2 separate regions of the Homo sapiens genome follow, and region 2 is linked to region 1. Evidence: promoter capture Hi-C in human tissues and cell types (Jung and others, 2019). All regions are on one chromosome and are shown on one strand. Each heading gives the region's core, a stretch centred on a gene start or on the middle of the fragment in contact. The rest is flanking DNA. Distances are from core to core; before and after follow the strand shown. Region 1 holds the start of PRKAR1B (protein kinase cAMP-dependent type I regulatory subunit beta). Region 2 has its middle 16 kb from the start of FOXL3.

The links. Contacts are between HindIII fragments. The study calls those that stand out against the background at their distance.
Region 2: a contact is called between a fragment that was not itself captured here and the fragment with the promoter of PRKAR1B in region 1, in 1 of the 25 tissues and cell types used here (lymphoblastoid cells).

Annotation. Positions count from the first base shown.
Region 1 is chr7:725,687-729,172 of GRCh38, forward strand. PRKAR1B (protein kinase cAMP-dependent type I regulatory subunit beta) reads right to left here and starts at 1,595. Exons shown (of 11, transcript NM_001164760.2): 1 at 1,524-1,595. It overlaps DNAAF5 (dynein axonemal assembly factor 5), which reads left to right and starts at 1,013. Exons shown (of 13, transcript NM_017802.4): 1 at 1,013-1,629. The coding sequence starts at 1,035. RefSeq lists silencers at 1,086-1,285, 1,536-1,585, 1,646-1,755, 1,796-1,875. The HindIII fragment of the contact is 22,808 bases long and covers 1-3,486 here.
Region 2 is chr7:271,836-275,615 of GRCh38, forward strand. No RefSeq gene overlaps it. Among named protein-coding and RNA genes, the nearest start is that of FOXL3, 16 kb to the right of the region's middle. The HindIII fragment of the contact is 9,029 bases long and covers 1-3,780 here.

The DNA of each region.
Region 1 (3,486 bases), core at 345-2,844:
TGAGCCACAAGATTAGAAATTGTGGTTTGAGTCATGCAGCTAGAGGCCACAAGATTCCAAACCTCCCCAGTTGCTCCTTAGGATAACACCACTATCATCAACTCTAAGATTGGTGCTCAAGATATTTTTCAGGCTCTGCATTCTGATGCACCAGGTGCCACCACCCACACCACTAATCTGGCTCAACCAGTTCTGTGATCCCACCCAGGAACAGAAGACAGCAAGAGAATCAACTTTGACTCTCCATGGTTTCATCTCCAACCCGACCAATAAGCACTGCCCTCTCCCTGGCCCCCTACCTGCCTAATTATCCTTAGATGACCCATCTCAGGATTTTCAGAACCTGGTTTGAGCAATAAAGCTCCAGTGTCCTTTAGCCAGTTTCTGCATGCAGCCAGTTTCTGCATGCAGCCAGTTTCTGCATGCATTAAACTCTCTATTGCAATTCCCCTGTCTTGATAAATTGGCTCTACCTGGGCAGCGAGTAAGGCGAACCTATTGGGCGGCTACGCCTGAGATCTAATGACAGGCTGCACGTGAAGCCCAGACCAGGCACCTGTCTTACACCACAGGGGGATCCAGTCCACAGAACCAGCGTCCTTCCCTCCTGGAACGGACCTTCCCAAAGCCAGAGGGGCTCTAGGCGGCTCAAACAGGGGCTTCCCGGCTACCCTGGTCCCAGGCGGGACCACTCAGGTTCCTTCTCCAAGCCCCCTAGGCTGCAGGGCAGGCTTCCCTAGGGGCAGGCCCAGGCCTATAGCCCGGGACCCGCATCCCGGGCGAGCTGCACCCTCCCGAGACCTTCCCCATCTGTACAATGGGGACAGGACAAGGCCCAGCAGGCAGGCTGGCGGGGGTTCCGGCGACAGAGGGGGACAGCGGGCGAGCACGACAAGAGCACAGGCCCACGTGCGCACCGGCGGGGAGGAAGTAGCCCGGCGCCCCGCCCGCAGCGCGGACCGGAAGTGCTGCCGTAATCTGCGCTGAGAGTCGCGAAAGCGCTGTTCCCCTTAGTGACCGGCGACGCGGGCAAGATGGCGGCGCTGGGGGTGGCGGAGGCCGTGGCGGCCCCACACCCGGCTGAGGGGGCCGAGACGGCTGAGGCGGTGGAGCTGAGCCGCGCCCTGAGCCGCCTGCTGCCGGGGCTGGAGGCCGACAGCAAGCCGGGCCGGCGGCGCGCCTTGGAGGCCCTGCGGCGCGCGCTGGAGGAGCCAGGCCCTGCCGCCGACCCCACCGCTTTCCAGGGCCCCTGGGCGCGCCTACTGCTGCCGCGCTTGCTGCGCTGCCTGAGCGACCCCGCCGAGGGCTGCCGCGCGCTGGCAGTGCACCTGCTGGATCTGGGCCTGCGCCGCGCCGCGCGGCCCCGCGATGCCCTGCCGCGCCTGCTGCCCGCGCTCGCCGCGCGCTTGGCCGGCCCCGTGCCCGCGCGCCGCCCGCCCGAGGCCTGTGAGGAGCTGCGCCTGGCGCTTGTGCAGCTGCTGGGCCTGGCCGTGGACCTGTGCGGCGCCGCGCTCGCGCCCCACCTGGACGACGCTCTGCGCGCGCTGCGCTGCTCCCTGCTCGACCCCTTCGCCGCCGTGCGCCGCGAGAGCTGCAGCTGCGCCGCCGCCCTGGCGCAGGCCACGCCCGGTGAGCACCCCGGGCCCCGCTCCCACACGCCACCCCACACTCTCACCCCCACCTCCACCTCCGCGGCCCCTCTCACAACCCCCGCGGCTCGGCCCCGCCCCCCTCCACGCCCGCACCCCCCAACATCCCGGACCCCCCATGCGCCGCTTCCCCCACCCGCCTGCCCCAAAGCACCCCGCCCGGCCCCCTCCTCCCACCACCACTGCTTCCCCTGCCTCACGTCCCGCCACCAACGCGCCCTTCAGCTGCTCCCTTGTCCTCTACCCCCATGTACCTGTTTCCTGCGCTGCCACGTGCTCCTTGCCCCGTGACCCCTGTTCCTGCTTGGCCCTCACTCACCTCACTCCCCTGTCCCCTTGCTCCCCGCCTCCACCCTCCACGCCCCAAGCCCCGCCCCCCACCTGCCTGCTCCCTGTGCCCCCTCCACCTGCCTATCCTGTGCCATCCTCCTCCTTGCACGCCGCCCTCCCGCGACCCTCACCTCCCACCCTCCTCCCTGCCTGAGCCCCCTCCACCCCACCCGGGCCCACGAGCCAGCGCTTCTGTCCAGATACCTGGAAACCACCGCAGAAATTCCTGTTAGGCGGTTTGGGGTGGGGTGTGCCCTGATAGCTGCCCCCTTTCCTTCCCTCGGGGGCTTGCAGGACTTGCACCTGGTTGAGGGCACGCGCTTTGAGACTCTGCTCTGGTCATTTCACTTTCTGTCCCATTCATCCTACTCCCCTGCCTTTCCGCTCTGGCTTGGACCACTGTCCTAAGTGGAAGGAGGCCGCTTCTCCCCTCCACTTTATAACGTTCCCCATCTTTTTTAGAGCTCTGATCTGATCCGGTCGTTCCCTTTCCTTAGCTGGCCATTCCTGCAGGGTCTTGCCCTTTCCCTCCCCTGGCTGGGATGTGGAATGATAGCAGGCGCCTGCTTCCTGCTGGCGGGAAGGCTTTCCGAAGGAGGGAACACTGATGCTATAAATCCGTGGGCGGTAGGGAGCAGGAAAGCAGTGAGGGATCTGGCCAGCTCAGGCCGTCCCAGTGATGTCCCAGTGATGGTCTGAATGTAGTGGGAAGTGCAGGGGGTGTCAATAGAAGTGATAGACCCGAGTTCAGGTTGTTAAAAGATCACTGCAGCTGCGTGGAGAATAGATTCCAGAAGTAGAGGAAGAGCTGGACTTGGGGAAATGCCGAGATTTCCACGTTGGTTAACTTTGGATTTCACATGGTCCAGAACTCCTGTGGAGCTTGGGGAAGAACCTTGGGCTGGATGGACATGGCCATTGAGAATTCCTGGCATTTAATGTATTTCTTCTTCATCCTCAACCACTTCCCTACCCAGTCTGTACATCAGCCCCACGAGCTCCCTCCCTGGACCGTAGGTTCCACAGGACAGCACTGTGCCCATCTGTGCCCCAGCCCCAAGCGCAGCCTGCTGGGGTATGTGCTCACTGGTTGCTGTGGGGTGAGGGACTGTGCCTCTGCCTGGAGCATCCCCTCATCTCCAGCACCTCTGGCCTTCCTCTCCCCTGGGTGGGGGGCCTCACCTCTGGTCTCGGTCACACTGGGCAACGGCAGAGAGGTTGAGGCGCTCACCCAAAGTCTCACTGGAATAGCCGTTTCCCAGACGGGCCCCAAGTAGTGCAGAGCTGAGGCAAGAGGCGGCCTGGATGCCAGAGACCCTTTGGTTCTGACTTTTTTTTTTTTTTTTTTTGAGACAGGGTTTCACTCTGTCTCCCAGGCTGGAGTGCAGTGGGGCGATCTCAGCTCACTGCAACCTCCGCCTCCTGAGTTCAAGCGATTCTCCTGCCTCAGCCTCCCAAGTAGCTGGGATTACAGGCGCCTGCCACCTCTTGTTCTGACTTTCTGCGG
Region 2 (3,780 bases), core at 194-2,693, 450 kb before region 1:
CTGTTTAGGGACGGGGTCAGCTCCTGCCCGCCCATTCCCCTCTCCTCCCAGGCAGAGGCTGAGGATGTGGAGGAGGAGCAGCATCTGAGGCCCCTGCAGGGGGGAGCGAGGAGGGAGCACGGCTGAGGATGTGGAGGAGGGACAGCATCTGAGTCCCCTGCAGGGAGGAGTGGGGAGGGAGCACGGCTGATGATGTGGAGGAGGGACAGCATCTGAGGCCCCTGCAGGGAGGAGCGGGGAGGGAGCACGGCTGAGGATGTGGAGGAGGAGGAGTGGCGTCTCAGACCCCTGCAGGGAGGAGCAGGGAGGGAGCACGGCTGAGGATGTGGAGGAGGAGCGGCACCTGAGGCCCCTGCAGGGAGGAGCGGGGAGGGAGCACTCCAGAAACACTTCCCAAGTCCACGTGCCTGCATCCCAGATTTCCTCTCCCTGGGATGGCTGCTGGACATCCCAAATTCCGCCGAAGCTGATCCCGCACTCTCCCCCACAGAAGGTTCTCCCCACGCAGCCTTCCCTCATCATCAGTAACAACTCCCCTGACTCTTCTCCTCCCCCAGCACCCCTCACGTGCTGAGCTCCACTTCTGGAGATGGAAGAACAGCCCCTCCCTCCACGCCCCCACTGTGCACGTTCCCAGACACCGAAGTCACCTCCTGGTTCTGAGTCCCAGTGGCCTGCACAGTGACCCTCACAAGAGCCCCTCCCTCCACGCCCCCACCGTGCACGTTCCCAGACACAGAAGTCGCCTCCTGGTTCTGAATCCCAGCGGCCTGCACAGTGACCCTCACAAGAGCCCCTCCTCAGCTCGCAGTCCAAGGGACCCGTAAATGTGTGAGCAGATCACACCCCCTCTCCTTCACGCACCATCCCCATCCCACACGAGGGCAAGGCAGAGTCCTCACAAAGGCCTTCGGGGTCCTCTGCAGGTGGCCTCGGTCCACGTGCTAAGATCATCCTGCTTCTCTTCCTCTCACGGGTTCTCCTTCAGCCCCAGGCCTGGCTGCTTCTCGGTCAGTGGGCATTCACCCGCACAGCCCTCTGCCCTGTGCCTCCCTCAGCCTCGCATGGCTGGTGCGTCCCCTCTTTTGGGTCTGTGCATAGATGTCATCTCATGGGGGAGCCTACTGTGACCAGCCCGTGACCACCCACACACCCATGCGTGCACACACACACCCAGACACACAGGGAGACTGCTGTGGCCAGCCCATGACCACCCACACACTCGTGTGCACACACACACCCAGGCACACACACCCTGGACCCATGACCCTGCTATGTTTCTTTCCCCGTAGTACTTTTCTCACCTAGATTATCATTTTAGTCACCTTTTGGTCAATAATTTGTCTCCTCCGATAGAACCTAAGCCCATGAAGATGGAAGACAGGGCAGGTTTTTTACTACGATTATTGTTCACTGGCATAGCCCAACCACGTCGACCACATTGTAAGCTCTTGATAAAAAATAAGAATGACTCCACATGACAGAAAGAGCCACCATGTGGCCATAAGGGACCAAACCACAGACCCACTCAGGCCGCGAGGCATTTCTCTCTCTGCTTTCAGTACTCGATGGCCTTTGACAACTTCGTGAGGATCTCTGAGTTGACCTTACTTGGAATTCACTGAGCTTCTCGGATGTGTAGAGTTATGTATTTCATCTCATTTGTGACTTTTTGGCCATTATTTCTTCAGGTATCCTCTGTCCCTTCCTCACTCTCCTCTCCTTCTGGGTCTCCTATTATGCACAGTTAGGGGCTCGTCAGGGCCCACAGATCTCTCCGGCTTTGCTCATTTTTCTTTATTCATTTTTCTTTCTGATCCTCAAACTGGATAATCTCAATTGACTTGTCTTCAAGTCACTAATTTTCTTTTTCTGCCTGCTCAAATCTGCCATTGAACCTCTCTAGTGAAATTTTCATCTCAGTTATTTTAGTTTTCATCTCTAAAAATTCTGTTTGGGTAATTTTCATAATTTCTTCTTTTTTTTTTTTTTTGAGATGGAGTCGAGTCTCACTCTGTCACCCAGGCTGGAGTGCAGTGGTGTGATCTCAGCTCACTGCAAGCTCTGCCTCCCAGGTTCATGCCATTCTCCCGCCTCAGCCTCCCGAGTAGCTGGGACTACAGGTGCCCGCCACCACACTCGGCTAATTTTTGTATTTTTAGTAAAGACACGGTTTCACCATGTTAACCAGGATAGTCTCGATCTCCTGACTTCGTGATCTGCCCGCCTCGGCCTCCCGAAGTGCTGGGATTACAGGGGTGAGCCACCGCACCCAGCCAGGTAATTTTCATAATTTCTATCTCTTTATTGAAATTCTCTATTTGTTCAAACATTATTCTCCTGGTTTTCTTTCTTTGCCCATGTTAAACCCAATTAAATATGGCCTGAGAAGGACTCCATACTTCTATATTTGAGTACTTGTGGATGAACTGCAACCTAGCTTAACAGGTAGATAAGATTGAAAACCTAACTTAGGAATCTGCACCTGTAACAATAGCTGAGTCTTGGCCAATTCCAGCAGCCATAGTTCAACCACTCACACACTGCTGAGTGTTCAAACTGTGTTCAAATAAGGCAAACACCAAGCTGTGACCGATCCAGCCATTCTGTACCTTACTTCTGATTTCTGTACCTCTCTTCCCTTTTTTTTATCTATAAATCTTCTTCCACCACGTGGCTGCACTGGAGCCTCTTTGAATCTGCTGTGATTCTGGGGGCTGCCTGATGTGTGAATCATTCATTGTTCAATTAAACTCTTTAAATTTAATTCAGTTGAAGTTTTTCTGTTATCACCCACTGTTTCTTTTAGCTCCTAAACATACTTTAAATAGTTGATTAAAGTCTTCGTCTAATGTGTCTGCTTCTTCTGAGAGAGGTTCAGTTGATCTTTTTTTCTTTTCCTTTAGCATCTATGGGCCATAGTTTCTTGTTTCTTTGCATGCCTTGTAATTTTTTGCTGAAAAGTAGACATTTGGAATATTATGATGTAGCAGCTATGAAAATCTCCTCTCTCCCCACATTTGGAGCAGGGAACTCCAAAATCCATCTGTTCATAAAAGCAATGAATAAACTGGCAAAAACAATTGGAACCAACGGATTGCTGCTTATGTAGTTTTTTTGGTTTCAGTTTATTTTGTTGCTGCTTATTTTTAGTATTTCTGTTTATTTAGTGACTTTTCTGAGTGAATTTTATGAAGTCTGTGTTCTATGCTGTGTGTGGTCAGTGAAGTCTCTGTTCTGTGAGTTCACTCTCAGCTAATGATTCCACAGAGCGAGGACTAAGCTCTGGCTTTTTCTTATCTTGCCCGTATTTCTGTCTAAGGGACCTGGGGTATCATGCCCTACAAACCATAAATTCTCATCAGATGGGTTTTATTTAACCCTGTGTATCATGGCTTACTTTCCAGTCTGACTCTAGCATTACATTATGTGGCAAAGAAGAAAATAAAAATTGTTTACCCCAAAACATGTTTCTGAAATGGCCGTGCAAAGCCGTCCTTTGTGGGGGAACATCTTGCATCTGTAGAGACTCTCTAGTAACATAGCTAGATCTTTTTCTTCCAGGCCCTCCCAATCCTGAAGAGATTAACTGAGAGCCTAGCACCTTGTAAATGTCTGAATAGGAAACATTTGTCATTGATTGTCTCTAAGGGCAGCCATTATGAGACTCCAAAAAAACCGTGGTCTCCACAATCTTTTATCTTAACCTGAATATTTCCTTTCTGTGGATCCCAGGTCTTTAGACAAACTCAACCAACTGTCAACCAGAAAATGTTTAAA